7 separate regions of the Homo sapiens genome follow, and all the other regions are linked to region 1. The links are contacts of gene promoters, found by promoter capture Hi-C in blood cells and fetal thymus (Javierre and others, 2016). All regions are on one chromosome and are shown on one strand. Each heading gives the region's core, a stretch centred on a gene start or on the middle of the fragment in contact. The rest is flanking DNA. Distances are from core to core; before and after follow the strand shown.

What was found. Contacts are between HindIII fragments. The CHiCAGO score rates a contact against its expected background, and 5 or more counts as called.
Region 2: a contact is called between a fragment that was not itself captured here and the fragment with the promoter of RYBP in region 1, in 2 of 17 cell types (total B cells and naive B cells). The highest score is 6.7, in total B cells.
Region 3: a contact is called between a fragment that was not itself captured here and the fragment with the promoter of RYBP in region 1, in 6 of 17 cell types (naive B cells, M0 macrophages, megakaryocytes and 3 more). The highest score is 10.0, in naive B cells.
Region 4: a fragment that was not itself captured here is called in contact with the fragment with the promoter of RYBP in region 1 in 6 of 17 cell types (naive B cells, M2 macrophages, M1 macrophages and 3 more); the score reaches 8.2 in naive B cells.
Region 5: a contact is called between the fragment with the promoter of GXYLT2 here and the fragment with the promoter of RYBP in region 1, in 3 of 17 cell types (fetal thymus, neutrophils and naive CD8 T cells). The highest score is 11.0, in fetal thymus.
Region 6: a contact is called between a fragment that was not itself captured here and the fragment with the promoter of RYBP in region 1, in 3 of 17 cell types (M1 macrophages, M2 macrophages and erythroblasts). The highest score is 6.9, in M1 macrophages.
Region 7: a fragment that was not itself captured here is called in contact with the fragment with the promoter of RYBP in region 1 in 2 of 17 cell types (naive B cells and total B cells); the score reaches 10.9 in naive B cells.

What each region holds. Positions count from the first base shown.
Region 1 is chr3:72,445,356-72,447,879 of GRCh38, forward strand. RYBP (RING1 and YY1 binding protein) reads right to left here and starts at 1,268. Exons shown (of 4, transcript NM_012234.7): 1 at 1,141-1,268. The coding sequence starts at 1,268. RefSeq lists silencers at 1,585-1,644, 1,705-2,114. The HindIII fragment of the contact is 10,688 bases long and covers 1-2,524 here.
Region 2 is chr3:71,942,747-71,945,270 of GRCh38, forward strand. No RefSeq gene overlaps it. Among named protein-coding and RNA genes, the nearest start is that of LINC00877, 160 kb to the right of the region's middle. The HindIII fragment of the contact is 2,045 bases long and covers 236-2,280 here.
Region 3 is chr3:71,962,282-71,964,805 of GRCh38, forward strand. No RefSeq gene overlaps it. Among named protein-coding and RNA genes, the nearest start is that of LINC00877, 140 kb to the right of the region's middle. The HindIII fragment of the contact is 2,712 bases long and covers 1-2,524 here.
Region 4 is chr3:71,987,129-71,989,652 of GRCh38, forward strand. No RefSeq gene overlaps it. Among named protein-coding and RNA genes, the nearest start is that of LINC00877, 110 kb to the right of the region's middle. The HindIII fragment of the contact is 1,254 bases long and covers 639-1,892 here.
Region 5 is chr3:72,886,787-72,889,310 of GRCh38, forward strand. It overlaps GXYLT2 (glucoside xylosyltransferase 2), which reads left to right and starts at 1,260. Exons shown (of 7, transcript NM_001080393.2): 1 at 1,260-1,722. The coding sequence starts at 1,448. RefSeq lists silencers at 1,300-1,529, 1,630-1,759. The HindIII fragment of the contact is 7,571 bases long and covers 1-2,524 here.
Region 6 is chr3:72,836,526-72,839,049 of GRCh38, forward strand. All of the region lies in intron 4 of SHQ1 (SHQ1, H/ACA ribonucleoprotein assembly factor), which reads right to left. Among named protein-coding and RNA genes, the nearest start is that of SHQ1, 11 kb to the right of the region's middle. The HindIII fragment of the contact is 1,336 bases long and covers 601-1,936 here.
Region 7 is chr3:72,067,145-72,069,668 of GRCh38, forward strand. The region is part of intron 2 of LINC00877 (long intergenic non-protein coding RNA 877); the gene reads right to left. Among named protein-coding and RNA genes, the nearest start is that of LINC00877, 32 kb to the right of the region's middle. The HindIII fragment of the contact is 1,036 bases long and covers 750-1,785 here.

The sequences.
Region 1 (2,524 bases), core at 18-2,517:
AATTAATCTCAGAGTTAGATTATTTTAGGTTGCCCAATAATCCTATTTAATCCCAAGTATAAATAAACCAATGAAACCTTAACATGACATATTCATCTAATCAAAGAACAATATCCAGTTGGAACTGTGAAGTACTACTACACAGTCACACTGAAATGTCACCAATTCAAAAATAAGTACCTGATAAAATGAGACTTTTGGCAATCAACTGTAATGTTCTAAAGGATCCACCAAAAACTCATTCTTGTCTCACACACACACCCAATGCCTGTTCATTAAATGACACCAAGAACAGTTTAACTTCAAACTCTAACGCCAATGAAACAAATTCAGACATAAATTAAAAGATGACCAAAAGACTACATGAGTCTTGACATTTTATCCAAGTATTTATGAATGTTAAATCTAAAGTAGTTAACTCGTTTTAACATCACATGCAGTTTACGACCTTCATCAAAATGAAAAGGAATTCTTTCAACATTCTTTTCATCATCACAGAGCTTTAAACACAAACTTCCACAGTCACTGCTCATTTCACCATTTTACAAAATCGTCCCCCATCACCACCCCACATAAGCTAGTCAAAGAAAAAAAAAACTGACAGCTCAGTCTCCCACAAAATGCACTTACTTTATCAAATACCGACATTTATTTTCAAGTGCAAGAAAGTAACAGACATTTGCAGCTCAAGACAGGAAAAGCACAGCCAGCCTTACTACCCCCACTAAATTTCTCAGACAAGAGAAAAGTAACTCGGGACAGGCAAATTAAAACCATTCTACACATGGCAAAAATATAAAACATCTATGTCCTACAATCCATAGCGATAGTACTGCTTCCTCTCTTCCCCAGCCAATACCAATAAGCCAATAGACACAAGTGTCAAATAAATCCAGTGTCCGTTTGAAATAAAATGAAAACCTGGAAAAATTCCCTCCCATAAATCATTTAGCGAACACAAGGCTTTTCACCCAACACTTAATACACTCAACCCAAAAACACACACAACCCACCCGCAAATACAAAAAAAGCCGTAATCAACAAGTTGGAAAAAGGGCAGAAAGTAAGGCTCACTACCCTCTCACTTAAAAAAAAAAAAAAAAAGTCCTTTAACAAAAGGTAACACAGATCTTCAAGTACCTGGTGGAGGTGCCTTTCCTCACATCGCAGATGCTGCATTTAAAGGCTTCAGCACTGTTTCTGAAGGTGCAGACGCTACAATCCCAAAACCCTTCGTCTGCGGCAGGTTTCGCTTGTCTTTTTGGCCTTCCGAGGAGTGGAGAGTGGGGGAAAAGGGAGGGAAGAGGCAGGGAGCAGGAAAACGGGGGAGAGACAGCAAAACACAGACGCGGGTGAGCCGTCGTAATTTCGCAGGAATCCAGTGCTGGAAACTTCGCTCGGGAGACCACCCACCCACCCTTTCCGGGGACTGGAAGAGAGAGCGAGGAAGGGAACCGGGCGCCCCCACTGGCACCCTGCAAGCCCCGGGCCCGGGCCGGATAGCCTCGCACACCAGGCGGTGGCGGCGGCGCCCCGGGAAGGGCCGCGGCGGGCGCAGGAAGCGGGCGGACTTGTGGACTTGAGCGTGGGGCTGGGGGGGCCGGGAGGGGAGCCGCGGGCCGGATCTGGAGGGGGCGCGCAGGGGCAGCCCGAGGCCGGCGACGGGGAGTGGGCCGGCTCCTTCCCTCTCCACTCCCAAGCTCGCGCCCTCCCTCCCTCCCCACCTGGTTAAATCCATCACAGTCTCCGGACGAGACTAGTCCCCGCCAGCGCCGCCTCCGCCGAGTGACTGACGAGGGGCGGGGCCTGGCGCCGCGCGTCACGCGCCGTGCGGCCAATGGGAGGGCGGCGGCCGGCGCCGCGAGGGCGGAGGCGGGGCGCGGGGGAAGGCGGGGCGTGGCGGACGTGGGCCGGGCGGTCGGTGTGCGTGCCCGGGAGTGTGTGCGCGCTGGGGGCGCGCGTGCCTGTCGGTGGCCCCGCGGCCCGGCGCGGCGGAGCGTGCAAGCCCGGCGGGGCGCACGTGGCCGCGCCCGGGAGCTGGCAACTGGCTTCGGGCCCCGCACGGCGCCCCGTGAGGCTGTTGCCGGGACCCCGGCCCCGAAGCCGCCCCGGGGAAGTAGTTCCACGCAGTTTGCGCGCGCCGCGGGAGCTTGCAACAGCCTCACCGCTCGCAGCGCCTCGAGGCTTGCAGTGCCCAGGGGCCGACAAGGTCCACCTTTGGACCGCGTTCCCCCGCGCCCCTCTGTTCCTCTGCCATGCGGAGCTTTGTATTTGCCTCTTCTGAAGTCCCTGCGTCCGGCCGAGACGCTGGCCCGAAGCCCCACTCCCTGTCAGGCCCCTGTCGCGGGAGGGAACAGTAGAGAAAGGGCGTGGCATAACTAAATGCCCCCAGGCCAGACTCTGAGCTTCTGCTGGCGGACTCCTCCTGGGATCCTCCTCTCCCCTAGAGTCTAAATAGGGCGTTTCCTTAGGGAAGTTGCTATTCAAATTCTGGCGACCACATGCCCGCATTAAAACCTCGTGC
Region 2 (2,524 bases), core at 8-2,507, 500 kb before region 1:
ATGGATCTGGTAAGCAAGAAAACTTTCTGTTCCTCTATTTTCTCATGTGTGAAATGTGGATGGCTAATAGCATCTATCTTGTAGGCTGTTGTGCGGATTACAGGAAATAATGCTGTAAAGCAAGGGTCTCCAACCCCAACCGCACCGCCCACCCCGTCCCCCGCCCTGGTAGCAGTCTGTGGCCTTTTAGGAACCAGGTCACACAGCAGGAAGTGAGGAGTGGGAGAGCCAGTGAAGCTTCACCTGTGTTTACAGCTGCTCCCAATTGCTCACATTACTGCCTGAGCTCCGCCTCCTGTCAGATCAACTGCGGCATCAGATTCTCAAAGGAGCACAAACCCTATTGTGAACTGCACATGCAAGGGATCTAGGTTGTTCACTCTTGATGATAATCTAATGCCTGATGATCAGTCACTTTCTCCCATAACCCCAAGATGGAACCGTCTAGTTGAAGGAAAACAAGCTCAGAGATCTCACTGATTCTACATTATGGTGAGTTGTATAATTATTTCATTATATATTACAATGTAACAATAATAGAAATAAAGTGTACAAAAAATGTAATGTGTTTGAGTCATCCCAAAACCATCCCCACACCCCTATTAGTGGAAAAATTGTCTTCCATGAAACCAGTCCCTGGTGCCAAAGAGGTTGGGGACTGCTGCTCTAAAGCACACACAGAGCATGTTAGTGATCTATTACAGCTGACCCTTGAACAACATGGAGGCTAAGGGTACACAGTTGAAAATTTGGATATAACTTTTGATTCCCCAAAATCTTAACTGCTAATAACCTACTGTTGACCAAAAGCCTTACTGATAACATAAACAGTCAATGAAGACATATTTTGTATGCTCATGTATTGAAGCATATAGGTGGCTGTATTCTTACAATAGAGTCAGCTGGAGGAAAGAAAATGTTATTAAAATCTTAAAGAAGAGAGAATATATTTACTATTCATTAATCATAAAGGTCTTCATCCTCATTGTTTTCAAGTTGAGTAGGTTGAGGAGGAGGGGGAAGAGGAGGAGTTGGTCTTGCTGTTTCCAGTTGGCAGAGGCAGAAGAGGTGGAGGAGCTGGAAGGGGAGGCAGGAGAGGCAGGCATGCTCAATGTAACTTTTATTGAAAAAAACCTGCATATAAGTAAACCTGCATAATTTAAACCCATTTTGTACAAGGATCGACTGTACTCTCTAACAAACCACCCCAAAACTTAATGACTTGAAACCACAGCAATCATTTATTGTACCTCACAGTTTGCATGGATAATTCAGATGGAGTACACTTGGGGCCGCTTAGCTCTGCTCCACTATCTGGGGGGCTGCAGCTGGAAGACTTGGAAGCTAGGGGCTGGGATCATCTGAAGGCCTAATCAGGGCTGGAGCATCCATTTCCAAGGTGACTCACACACATGGCTGGCAAATTGGTGCTGGATATTGGCCAAAGGCATCAGTTTCTCCCCACACAGGCCTTTCCTGAAGACTGCTTGAGTGTCCTCACAACATGGCAGCTGCCTTCCTCCAGAGCAAGCTATCCAAGAGGCAAAGGCAGATGCCTCAATGTCTTTTATGGCATAACCTCAGAAGTCACATACCATTCCTTATGTAATATTCTTCTGCTCACACAGGTCAACTCTGCTTCATTGTGGGAAGGGACTACCCAAGGGCATGTGTACTAGAAGGTAAGGACGACAGAGGGCCATCTTGGAGGCTGGCCACCAAACAAAGTGATAGACGCATAATAAGAACTCAATAATATGAGCTATTGTTTTCATTCTAAGAACAAAAGAGGGCCCCTTGGTAAAGACTTCACTCTGGAGAGGCAAGAAACTGAGAGCCAAGTTTCCCACCTGGTGCTCACCCAGCTCCTCCCAGCCACTGCTCCCTGGGGGTACACAGCTTATTCTCTGCTTGATGAAAGGTCTGCCTCTCTAACCTTCCCTGGAGCCAGGCAGGTGGCACTTGGCTTTCAGCATGCATCTCAGCAGGCAAAGTAAACAGAGGGTGCAGAGATATCCATAATGCTGTAATTAAGCAGAGAAAGGTGCTAACTGCAAATCCGGAGCTCCAAATGTCCTCCAAGGGGTAGTTAGGGCTGTGTAGAATCTGTTAACTGGCAATAACTTTGAAAGGAGGGTTTGCCAGAGAGAAGCCAACGTCGACATAGATCACCTGCAGACAACCGTAGGCTGACTGTGCATCCAAGCTCATTTGTTTTAAACTGAAAGCTCTGAGCCAAAGAGTCCAGCCTGGGATTGAATTAATGATGAGCATGAATGAAGCTTGGCATTGCTTCCCTCACAGACAGGCAGGCAATCAATGAATTTTTCATGTCTTGCTCATGGTGCCATTTTCTCTGCCAGGTTCTCAGACCACCCTTGGTACGTGGGCTGTGAGGGGTGGGGTTGGCTGGAGAGGGGAATGACTTTATTCTCTACTTTCTCTACAGTCACCCACAGCAGACACTTTGAGAGTGTCTGCCCTGTTCACAACAATCTCCTCTTAACAACCACACCCCCTTAGT
Region 3 (2,524 bases), core at 17-2,516, 480 kb before region 1:
CTTTTGTTATAGGAGTCTGTCCTAACTAAGAACTATGAAATGTAGAGAGACTATTTTTTTTACGCCCCTACAGATGCGGTACTGTCTACTTCCAAAGGGTACTCAATGGCATCTCCACTGGACCAAACTTATTGGCATTATTATCAGTTTCCTACAACAGAGTTTTGAAAGAGCTCATTAAAGACAATGAAAAGGACAGACCCCAGTCGTACCACTTCCTAGCTGTGCAGTGCTGGACAATTTAGTAAATTGTGATGTGGGCAATATGAATAGAAACTGTGCTGATAAATTTGCGATGATTCGATCAGTGAATGCCTGTAAAATGCTCAGCACCAGGTCTGGAATGTAGTGAGTTCCTGCTTGGTAGTGATTGCTGATATTCCATTTTACTGTCACCGTGCTGGGTATTTTCCATTGTCACAATCTATTCTTGGCCATTCTCCACCCTGCTCTGTGGCCCAGGAGGCACCTTTCCTGTGGCTTCTGGTTGGGTTCTACCAATTCATTCTTTCCCTCTGGAATTGCCTGGGAGTGGCAGCATCCCTCAAAGATCACAGCTCCTCCCGGGAAGCCCATGCCACCTCCAGGTCCCCATAATTGTCCCTTCCTGTCCCTTCAAGGCATCAGGGTGATAATAGCTCTCTGTTACCAGCCCTGCGTTTTTGCAAGTCCACTATGGTGTCCCATACTCTGCCCACCCCTTTGTAGATAGTGCCTTTACTAAACACACCTCAAATTACTCATGCTGAGAGCACCATCTGTGTCCTGGCAGGAACTCGACTGATGCAGTCATCAGCAATTTTTTTTTTTTTTTTTTTTTTTCTGAGATGGAGTCTTGCTCTGTCACCCAGGCTGGAGTGCAGTGGTGTGATCTTGGCTCACTGCAACCTTTGCCTCTTGGGTTCAAGCGATTCTCCTGCCTCAGCCTCCCTAGCGCTAGTCACCAGTATTTTTAATACCCCACTGTGTCCATCTCCGTTCCTTGAGTGATGCTGATGCTGCTCTTGAGTCTTATGAAAACTGAAAGCTGGATCCTTTGCTCCTGTTTTATCTTAGATGTAACTTCTCAGCAACGCTTGCAGCACAGGGAGTGAATGCCACCAAAGTCCCACACCAGAAGGCGGCATTCCTTTTTGTGACTGATCCCAAACACATGTACCAGGAAGAGAAGAGTGAAGAGATGAAGGGTCCATACAAAGATGAGTCTACGTAAACAGACTTTACTAAAAGAATCCTTATTTTCCCTTAGTTCCCCCGTATATGTCCCAGTTACTGCCCCACAATTTATGATCCTCTTTTCTTTGTTAAAAGGGCACACAAGCTCTCAAGTCTAACTGCTTGCGTTTCACTTCTTTTCTGTGAACTCTCATGCACATAAATATGAATAAAAATTGTGTGCGTTTTCTCCTGTCAGTTTGTCTTTTGTGAGTTTAATTCACAGGCCCCCAGTTATCTCACCTAAGAGGGTAGAGGAAAAGTTTTTCCTCTCCAATACCAGTGTCCCTGCTTCATCTCAGAGAAAAGATTATGGGCCCTTACAATGGATCATTTAGAAGAGGTTTAAGCTCTGTACTTTTTTCAGGAAGGAGCATCTTCAAATCTTACAAACCTATTTCTTGCTAATTGCATAACACCCATATGTTATTATGAAAATGTTACCAGGTTATTGAAAAATCTAAATTCAGTAAAGATACAAACAACTGTCTTATTTTCTCTAATTATTGACTTTAACTGTGCTATGTCTACTCTCCGTTAATCAGATTTCAGCCCTAGTTTTCCAGTCATTTTTACGTTTTAAAAGTCCAGTCCGGGCTAGTTTAAAGTTTGAAGATTCAATCTCATACCCCAATTTAACTTCATTTCCCAACCCCCAGAGCACACCTGGTTTTGACCTAAGGCATCTTGAGGAGGAAGGGATGTGGTCTGTTTTTTAGCTCTTCTTCCTCTAGTGCTTTAGGGGTTGAGGAGCAGGCTGGGGAAAAAGGGACAAATGCCTCTTAAGGGGTGTTATTGTTTCTTTTTGAGACTTTCCTGGCTTCTCTGGCAATGGCTTCTACTGGGCTGGCAGCCAACACCTGCCTTCTCATGGGGCAGATAACTAAGTTATATAAAAGGCCCTGGGTGGGGGACCTTCCCTGACCTGAGACAAACATTCTGGCTAGACATATGCGTAATGCCTCCTGGATATATAGAGATGGCTATGGAATCTTTGCTACTCCTATCATAGAGAGGAGGAGTCTCTTTCCCCTCCCATTGAAAGTAGGCTCACCTTAGTGACTTCCTTGGCTGATAGAATGCAACGGAAGGGACAGTCTCAAACTTCTGATGCTAGATCATAAGAAACCTTGCAGCTGCCATCAGGGTTTCTTGGACCTCTGAGCCACCATGTAAGAAGTCTGACTGTCACACTGGGAAGGCAATTGTAGGTGTGCCAATCAATAGTCCTAGCTGAACCCAGCCTTGCAGCCAAGGCACTAGACCAGCCCTTCCACCAGCTGCACACCACCAGAGGCCCTCACCTGAT
Region 4 (2,524 bases), core at 16-2,515, 460 kb before region 1:
GAAAAGTCCACATGAAGGCAGAGGCCGAGATTGGAGTGATGTGGCCACAAACTAAGCAATGCCAGGCTCCACCAGAAGCTGGAAGCAGCAGGGAACAGAATCCCTGCTACAGCCTCCAGAGGGAGTGCAGTCCTGCTGACACCTTGACTTTAAATTTCTAGCTTCCAGACAGTGACAGAGTACATTTCTGTTTTCCTAACCGAGCCAGTTTTTGTGGTATCTGTTACAGCAGCCACGGGAAACTAATACAAGTTGCTAACAATTTTTGGCCCTAACAACGTTTTCAGGGCTTTAACCCTTAATCTTCATAATGATGCTTTAAATGTTTTAATTAAATTAATTTTTTTCTTCTTATAACGAAGCTTTTTGGGTTCTTTTAGAAACTGGGTCTCGCTCCGTTGCCCAGGCTAGGGTGCAGTGGCGTGACTGTAGCTCACTGTAACCTCAACCTTCTGGCCTCAAGCAGTCCTCCCACTTCTGCCTCTCAAAGTGCAGGGATTACAGGAGTGAGCTACTGCACCCAGCCCATAATGATAATTTAAGGTAAGGATTGTTTTTGCTTCATTTCATAGGCAAGGAAACTGAAAAGCAGAGAGTTAAAGTGACTTATCCAGGTACATTAAGCAAGAAAATGGCCAAGCTTGACTTCAAATCCAGGCTATCTGATCCCAGAGCTAGTACCTTTAATGACTGTGGCCTCCTGCTTCTCCAAGCGGAATTACAAGCAGAATCCACCCCCTCCTGCCTCATGTGTGTAGTAATTGTTGGAACGCGGTTCCTTGCCTCTCACAACAGTTCCCTGTGCTCCCCTGGCAGGCAGGATATATACACATCTGACTGGGCTGAGCTAATTGGACTCTAAATCTGCAGGGAGTGAGGCAAAGCCGCAGGGTGGTTAATTTCTTCCTGGCGGTGGTAGTGGTGGCATCCTAGGCAGATGCTTCCTGTTAAAATTCATTGTGGTTCTTCCTGTTGATTGACCTACTGCAACTGCCTTGATTCCTGCCCTGTCCAGTCCCCAATATTCTTTCTCAATTCCTTCTCCACTGAAGAAAGCCAGAGTTAATTTCTGTTGTTTGAAATCAAAAATCTGTCTAATGCAGAGGAAAAGCTGGCACCTGGTGAACCCCAGGCAAAGCAAACATCTCAATGTAATCCTCAGCTTACCCTGTGCCTTCTTTGAGGCTGAGCTCAGCACTGGGGCCAGTGCCCCTGCCTCAAATAGATCAGTTTTACAAACTATTAGGAGGTAATATAGATGGGGCTGATGATCTCAAGGAAAATGAGAAAGGGAATTTATAGCACTGCCCAGACTGAACTTCATAAAACTCTAAAAACCTCTCTGTCTTCCCCGTCACTTCCTCTTAAGGAGTTGGCTATCTCATCTTCTCCAGCCCCTGGCCTCTGTGCATTTCCACTCTGACCATCAGCTCACATTCCCTACTCAAGAGAAAGGAGCCCTGGATTTCTCCCTTTAAAAATCAGTTCAGGCCAGAGGTGGTGGCCTACTCCTATAATCCCAGCACTTTAGGAGGCCAAGACAGGAGGATCACTTGAGCCTAGGAATTTGAGACCAGCCTGGATGATATAGTAAGATCCTGTCTCTACAAAAAAAAAAAAAAAGCTGGACATGGTGTCAGTCATCTATAGTACCAGCTACTCAGGAGGCTGAGAGGGGAGGATCATTGAGCCTGGGAGGTTGAGGCTGCAGTGAGCCATGATCATACCACTGCATTCTAGCTTGGGTGACAGAGCAAGATCCTGTTTGCTTAAAACAAAAACAAAAAACTAGTTCAATGAACATACACTGTTTCTCAAACATTCTTGGATATTCAAACTGCACAGGATGTAACTTATGGGCCTCCATATATTTGCTCAGCTTCACTATTCTAAGCTTTAATCTTTAAGCAACATGAGCTAAAACATCTCCTCATAAAAATAGATGTTTCTTGGGTGGCTGGGCATACACTGTCCTGGAGAAAATAAAATTATCCTCTCAATATTCTATCAGGGAGGGGCTCACATCTGTATCCTAGGTCCCCATATTCTAATCCCCGCAGCAGCATCAGTCTCCCCTGGAGTAAAGGCAAAGCCTTCCCATGACCCCCGTCATGCCCACTCTGAGGCCCAGGACTGACCTGACTCATCAGGGCCCTGGCTCCTCCCTCTAATTCCAGGCGCAGGAGAAGCATCATGCTTTGGGGCGTGGAATTTGGCTTCCTCAGTGGCTGCTTAGATGGAGATGACACCACCCAGAAATGGCATGAGTCAATGCCCCATGGAGCTAATGTTGACCAAGGAGAGACCTGGCAGTGAAGGAGCCACAGTTAAATTCCTTGCACTTTGCTCCCCTGATGGACTCTTCTGAGGCTTAGGAGTACCTCTTTTACTTCTCTGCAGATGTACTGCATGAACAAGCAACCTGCTGTGTTTCATTGTGAAGCTGTGGCCAGCCCAATTGGTAATGCACCACCTACATTTGCGTTCCTTCCTTCTCCACCTCATTTCTTTGTTCCCTTATTCT
Region 5 (2,524 bases), core at 10-2,509, 440 kb after region 1:
GGCAGGAGAATGGCTTGAACCCGGGAGGCGGAGGCTGCGGTGAGTTAAGATTGCACCATTGCACTCCTGCCTGGGCTACAGAGTGATCCAAAAAAAAAAAAAAAAAAAAAACTGAAAAACTCAGGGACGTTGTTATAACTTAACTAGTGTTCTTTGTTCTGTGGTGTGCTGAAAAGAGAGTTAATGGAGTCCTGGCTGTCAGTTCACCGTGAGTCATAAGAGGATGTGTCCTAATGTTTCAGATTTGTAACTGGGGATCCCCTGGAAGAATCGTCTGGAAATTACGACCTTCATCTGGCGATTGCAGCTGTTAAAGTCTCCAAAGAAGCCATTCTTACATTGTGTTGTGAAATTATTACTCTATCTCAAATCTGTGCCAGAAAGAAAATAAAATGTGTGTTTATGTGTATATTATAAGCTATGTTTTATTGAACTAATCATTACAGAACTTTTATTGGGCACCGACTGTGAGCCAGGCACTGTGCTAGTTTCTTTGAAGGCATTATTTAATTTAATGCTCACAAAACGCCTCTGTAGTGAGCAGTATTGTCATTCCCATTTTGCACGTAAGGAAGTTAAGGCTTAAGAAAGTTGTGCAGCTTCCTCAGGATCACCAAGCCAGTTAAGCACAGTGTCAGATTTCAAATCCAAACTTTGAAATTCATTCTCTAATTTCTTCAGACTACATGGATCGGTTCGGTCCAGTCTAGCTGTCCCAAGTTCTACTTTGGTGTTTTGAGTCTGAAACCCCAACTACTAATCACGTGTTACTTTTACTCGCTTTGCCTTATTTTGCATGTGTCCTTGTTGAATATGTCCTCCTCCAGGAAAAAGGGAGGTGGCAAGACAGAGGCGGCAATAGGGGTTTATTCAACAGATATTTATTGGGCACCACCACCCGCAGATCCCTGCACTGGGCAAACAGGACAGAGATGTTCCTGCCTGAAAGGATGTGTGGATAAGTGCACAAATGTGTGGATAGATGGATAAAATAAATAAGGAGGAAGCACATGGAATACATCAACAAATAAGTGAATCATGGTATGAGAGAATCAGCGGGAACAGTGGATGGCATGGGTGTGTGAGTGAATGGGGAAGTAAACGAACGAACGAACGAATGAATGAATGAAGTGGTTTTGAGTCTGAGCTACCAGAAGCCCGAGAGCCTGGCTGCGGGCGGGCGGAGGGGCGGCTACTCCACACAGTACGGTAGGCGCAGGCTGCTCCTCCTGTAACCCAGCTCTCACCGCCTCCCCCTCCTCTCCTCTCTCTCCTCCTCCTTCGCCGTCGCCGCCGCCGCCGGCCGCCCGCCGGCCGCCACGACCCCAGTCCCCGGCGGGCGGGCGGAGGAGGCGACCGCCGCGCGCTGCTGCACTCATCCTGCCGCCGCCGCGATGCGCAGAGGGGCCGAGCCGCCTGGGGGCCGCCGCCGCCGCCGCGCCGCACCATGAAGCTCCGCAGCAAGGCGGCGGCGCTGCTCTTGCTCGCGCTGGCCGCGCTGCTGCTGGCGCTGCTGTCCCTGCGCGCTGGCCGCGCTGAGCCCCCAGCGCTGCCCGCGCGCCCCGCGTCCGCCCCGCAGCGCCACCCCGCGCCTGTCCCCGCGCGCTGGCCGGGGCCGGGCGCCCTCCCCGGGGCCAGCCCGGGAGTTCGGAGGCGCCGGCCCCCGCGTCCGCGCCCCCGAGCGGGCCGCCGGGGCGCTGCGAGACTGGAGAAGTTGGCGAGGTGAGTCGTGGCAACCCCAGAATCCCATCTGCGGACCCGTGTCTCGCTCCCTACACCCGTGCCAAGTCCAAGGGAGGCTTTGCGCTGGAGAGACAGATTTCCAAGTTTCACCCACGGGCTGCCCACTTCTGTTTCTTAACCCGATAGAAAAGAAGACCCACCTTGGTGGAGTCCCCCTAACAGCTCGGTGTTGATAATCACGTACATTTTTTGAAGTGTCAAGGAAAGTGGTTTCGTACATTACATTTTTTAACTGTCAAGGCAAGGCGTATTTTTGCACTCTTGCAAACATGCACCCTTTGTTTAATTTGTCAAAAGCCATCACGGTGCAAGAATGTTTTATCTAATTCTCATGTTTCACTGGAGAATTTTACCGAAACCTTAGATATGGTTGAGTTGGAAAAGTTAGATGTTTACCAAGGACTGGCAGCCTCTCATTTAACCTCGAGTACCCCCATGCTTAGAACAGAAGGGACACTTGACCTAAGTTTATTAAAAAGAAGTTTTCTCCTTGAAAGGACTGATGCGTGGCACAGAAAAGACAGAGTGGGGGTTTCCAGATCCTCATTCTGTTTCAGGCTCGAGTGTGGTCAAAGGGTCCTCCTACAAGAAAAACAACTTAACCTTCGACCTTCTGTTTGATACTCTCTTTCCCTACACAAAGCCTAACACGCGGAGGCTTTTCATCAGAGAGCTTTATTTTTGGCCTCAGGGTTGCTGGAACGCCCCGCAGGTTAGGGATTTGAGTTCATTTCCTTTGTTGTGGAGGGCTTTTCAACAATCCCCTTGTCTTGTAGCGAGT
Region 6 (2,524 bases), core at 19-2,518, 390 kb after region 1:
TCTTCCCCCTGGCCTCCAGATTCAGGGCCTCCACTATAGTCATGCAACATGTACACAGCAGAACATGAGTGTTCAGAGCAGTGCAAGCCCCACCCAGGCTTGTTCTATGCACAGTCACATGCAGCAGCCCTGTTCAAACTGGACTCTAAAAAGAAACAGAAACAAACTAAAAGCAAAGGTAGCTTGGGGTTTAGAAGTAGAAGGCATTAATCAACCAAAGGGAAGAAAGAGGATGAGAAGTGTTCAACTACAGTAGGAAAAAAAGGTTCCTTTTTCTTTTAAACAATTGCTATGGCCACTAGTTATTAGAGCTATTTAAAGATAGACATTGCCAAGAAAAGGTCAGGTAGGATTTAAATTAAGTTTATGGAAGTTTAGGCACAGGTTAGGCAGAGACAATCCAGAAAGAAAATAAAGAACAATGAACACATCTGGCTAGTGGGTATCCCGGAAACAATGGCCTCAGGTCCCTGTGTAGCCAAAAGGACAGGGCCAGCAAGCCTGGCGTCCTGCAGCACTGGCAGCAGCAGTCCCAGGAGCTTGCTGGGTTGGCGCCCAGAGACTCTAGGATTGTTGCTGCTGGCAGCCACCACTGCCAGAAGCTTGTTGTGAAGTCCTGACTTTGAGCAGCTAGGGCAGTTTTCCAAAGGCACCCTGGTGGCTGGCAGCAATTTCAGAAAGGAAAAAAAGACTGGGGATAGGAAGAATATATCTCTGGGTATGGGGAGTGGAGGGAGGAATGTTCAAAGAGAATTTGTTTCAGCAAAAATATTTTATTTTCTTATTATCAGTATAAAATATAGATGTTTACAAACAAATCCTGTCTAAAAAGTTGGAGGCAAAAAAATATGAAAGACTTCTGTAAAGGGCTAAATTATTCAATGAAGAAAAGATCCCTCAGTGTTGAAATTATGAATAATTTTTTTACTTTCTTCTTTGTATATTTTTATAATAAATCTGTATTGCTTTTATTATTAGAAACAAAAAAGCCATTTTTCATCTACAGGGGGAGGAAAAAGCTGTAAAAATACTCATATGAGTAGTCAATGAAGCTGTATGGACATCTCTTCATCTATAGGCAGAACTAGAAAAAATAAACTTGTGAGAAAATACTATTTGAGAAAATGGTGAAGTTTTCAAAATCATTTTAAATTAGAAAAGATGTTCTAAAATCTCTTATTTGTGATCATCATTTCAGTTTCTTCTAGCTGCTTTACTCATAGAATTAGGGTCATATTATTAACCTTACATGATCACTCAGTTTTGAACCACTTGTTACGGCTGCCATAAACAGCAGCTGTGAATGAAGAAGAACTCTACAAGTAATTAACCAATTATGCAAGATTTCTGTGGCAATATTTCATAAAACCTATCTACCTTAATATCTTCAAGAGGATACATTTCAATTTTTGGAATCTTGGGCTTACACTTGATTTCTAAGTCTGGTTGCTGCACACGCAGTGCTCAGCACAGTGCTATCCAAATCCCCTGGAGCAAGGTGAGCTTCAGGATTCACTCTTTCAGAGTTTAGAAAGGTAACATGGTGCACACACCATACTTTATGTAATAACCTCTAAGATGTCTGGGGCAGCGCCCATATCCAAACACTACTTCTACAGGAAATTTTTGAATACGTACACTAAGTGGGATTTAAAAATCTGTATCGGTTCAGGTTAAGTTTTGCCACCAAATTAAATATTTTAACTTTTAGTTTTCAGAACTTTGTGTGATCCCAGTATTGCACATATGGGGTTATAAACCTGTACTACAAGTAGTATACTATTTACGTTATAAAACCCTTAGAGTTTTCCCAAATGCTCAGTTGTTTTTCCCCTACATTAGGGAATATTCATTCAAATTGTTTAGAAAAGCAATGCTCTTGCAATTAAAATTTGAAGAAGAGTTTAATGATTTTAGATGATTAAGCCATTTTAAAAGCTTAGAATAATAAACATTAAATTCAGTGGTTCATTTCCTTTTTTATTTTTTTGAGATGTAGTCTCACTCTGTCACCCAGACTGGATGGAGTGCAGTGGCGCAATCTCGGCTCCCTGCAACCTCTGCCTCCTGGGTTCAAGCGATTCTCCTGCCAGCCTCCAAAATGGCTGGGATTACAGGCATGCGCCACCACGCTCAGCTAATTTTTGTATTTTTAAGTAGAGACAGGGTTTTGCCATGTTGGCTAGACTGGTCTCAAACTCCTGACCCGCCTGCCTCAGCCTCCCAAAGTGCTGGAATTACAGGTGTGAGCCACTGCACCCAGCCACAGTGGTTTATTTCTGATGGGAAACAGAGGGATGTAAACAAAAAGGGATTAGACAGGAGTCAACTATATTGGTTAATGTTTAATGTTTTTAACCTAAGTAATAGATGTCTAGGTATTTGATACATTAGTTAAGACATCCAAAAAGAAAGTATAGCAGCTTAAAAAAAAAAAAAAACCTAAATTATTAAGTGAACATTTTCAAGATACAAGAATTTCTGACCTAAAAGGCACTCATTCTAGGCTCACATTATGGCATTC
Region 7 (2,524 bases), core at 18-2,517, 380 kb before region 1:
TTACAATCATCGCAGAAGGCAAGGAAGAGCAAGTCACATCTTATGTGGATGGCAGCAGGTAAAGAGAGCTTGTGGAGGGAAACTCTCCGTTTTAAAAACCATCAGATCTCATGAGACTTATTCACTGTCACAAAAACAGTAGAGGAAAGACCTGCCCCGATGATTCAATTACCTCCCACTGGGCACCTCCCATAACATGTCGGAATTCAAGATGAGATTGGGGTGGGGACACAGCCAAACCATATCAAAGGGCTAAAGAAAAAAATATCCCTTATTTTAACCTCTACTTTCCCCTTACCCTATCCTCATGCAATGGACTACCTAAGAGGTGGGGAAGGGAAGATTTGCCAATTACTACCAAGGGAGTTAAAAACTTGAAAGCAGCAAAAGAGGAGTATTTTTGATGTTCAGGTTTTCTTAAGCAAGGCCACATTGTGCTCAGAATAAATTATACAAGACAGAAGGAGAGAAAAGTTATAGGCTAAATACTATTTATCTAGTAGGGGTGAGGTTGGGAAGATAGAGTTGGAAGAACAATATCATCAGGGTCTTAGGGAGTGAAGTTTCTCTGGCACACACACAAGACAGAACTTTGGTGGTTTAAAATATGTCCAAAAGTGCTTGGCAGTCCTCCTAATTTCCATCCCCGACTTGAGTGTGGGGCTGGACTTACTGATTTACTTCTAACCAGTAGATATAATGAGACTGATCATGTATGACTTCCAAGACTAGATCATAAGACACACTTAAGCTTCCTTCTTTCTTAGGTCACTCATTCTGGGAAAAGCCAGCTGCCATGTCATGAGGATATACCAAACAGTATATGGAGAGGCCATATGGTGAGAAATTGAGGGCTTCCACCAACAGCCATGTGCTCCTCCTGCCCCAGTTAAACCTTCAGTTGACCATAGACCCAGCTGGCATCTTGACTGCAACTACATGAGAGACCCTAAGCCAGAGCCCAGCTATGTCTCAAATTCCTAATTCACAGAAATTGTGGAGATAGTAAATATTTTTTTTGTGTTAAGCCACTAGATTTTAGGGGTAATTTTTTGTGCTACAATAGATCATTATTTGATTATTAGTGGGGGTGGGGAGATAGAACAGGAAGAATCCATCATGAAGATTTTAGGAAGCAAAATTGCTCTAGCACATGACATATAACAGGTATCAACATTTCTTGCCTCTTCTGTCTACTGAATTGAAACAAAATACTGGAGATAATCTACATATTATCTACAGAATTCTCATGGAACCAGAATTTCTGGGTCAAAAGATAACTCAGAGAGTTGAAAAATCTTCATTTTTTCCCATAATAGATAGGGAAACCTAGATTCAGAGAAAATAAGTGATTTTCCCGAAGTTCTTTTATCCAGTTTGGAGGAATCCTGGTTTAAGTTGTAGGCAACAGGCAAATTCGGAAAAGTTATTGATATCAGGAATTTCCAGCTGGCCTAGGTAATAATGTTTTCTGCACATCACCAATACTGAGGGTTCACAAACATATTTACAATAGCCAGGAGACAAAGCTGTCTGTGGAATTACAATTCAGTATCAATATGTAAAACTGATTTGTTGTTTGTTTAAGGAAAATTGTTGCAATCTTTCCTTAAGCAAGTTGTAAGTCCCCAAGACACAGAAAGTGTTGACTCATATTGAGCGGCTTCATGTAAACAATTGGTTTGCCATCTGACAACTCTAGCCTTCAAAAGGCCCTGGAATGCAAAGACTGGTTAAGGAAAACCTCTAGACTGGAGATGTCCCATGGAGGTTCCCCAGCTATTAAGCTTGTTCTTCAGCTCTTGAGAAGATTGCTTTTCTGAAACAATAATTTTTTTGCCATCACTTTCAATGGCAAAAACTACAATTACTTTTACACCAACCTAATAATAAGGGATGGTCTGACTTTATGGAGTCCTAGATCATTTCAATTTGGTGATGTTCAGGCTTTCTTAAGTTCCATGCCTTAAGCACTTTTTTTGAGCCAGCAAATAGACACCTTTATACCAATTTGATACCCAGAAATACTCAGGTAGAAGCTTCTTCAGAGACCTGCTCTAATTTCTCTAACCATCACCATCTTTTTATAAGTAGTAATAAGTAGTAATCTGGAGTTCTATAAACTTGACTTTTATACATCACTGTGCACAACCCAGCTTCTGTCCTCCTCTCCCACTCACTCAGGTACCACTGTGCCCCTTGATCACTCCACTCCAGACACATTGACCTTCCTTTTGTTCCTAAAATAAGACAGATTCTTTCCCATCTGAGATCCTTTCCATCTGCTTTTCTTTCCATCTGGAATATTCTCATCTCATGGCTCTTAGAATGGCAGTTTAATGCTCAGTGTTTCAATGTTCACGTATCAATTCAAATGACCCCACCTCTTAGAGAAGCCTTCCCTGTGTGGGCACCCCTCCCTTTCCCATCTGTGACAGTCAGTTGTATGTGTCAGCATGGCTAGGCTATAGCTCCCAGTTATTCAATGGAGCACTAGTCTAGGTGTTTCTGGGAAGGTATTTTG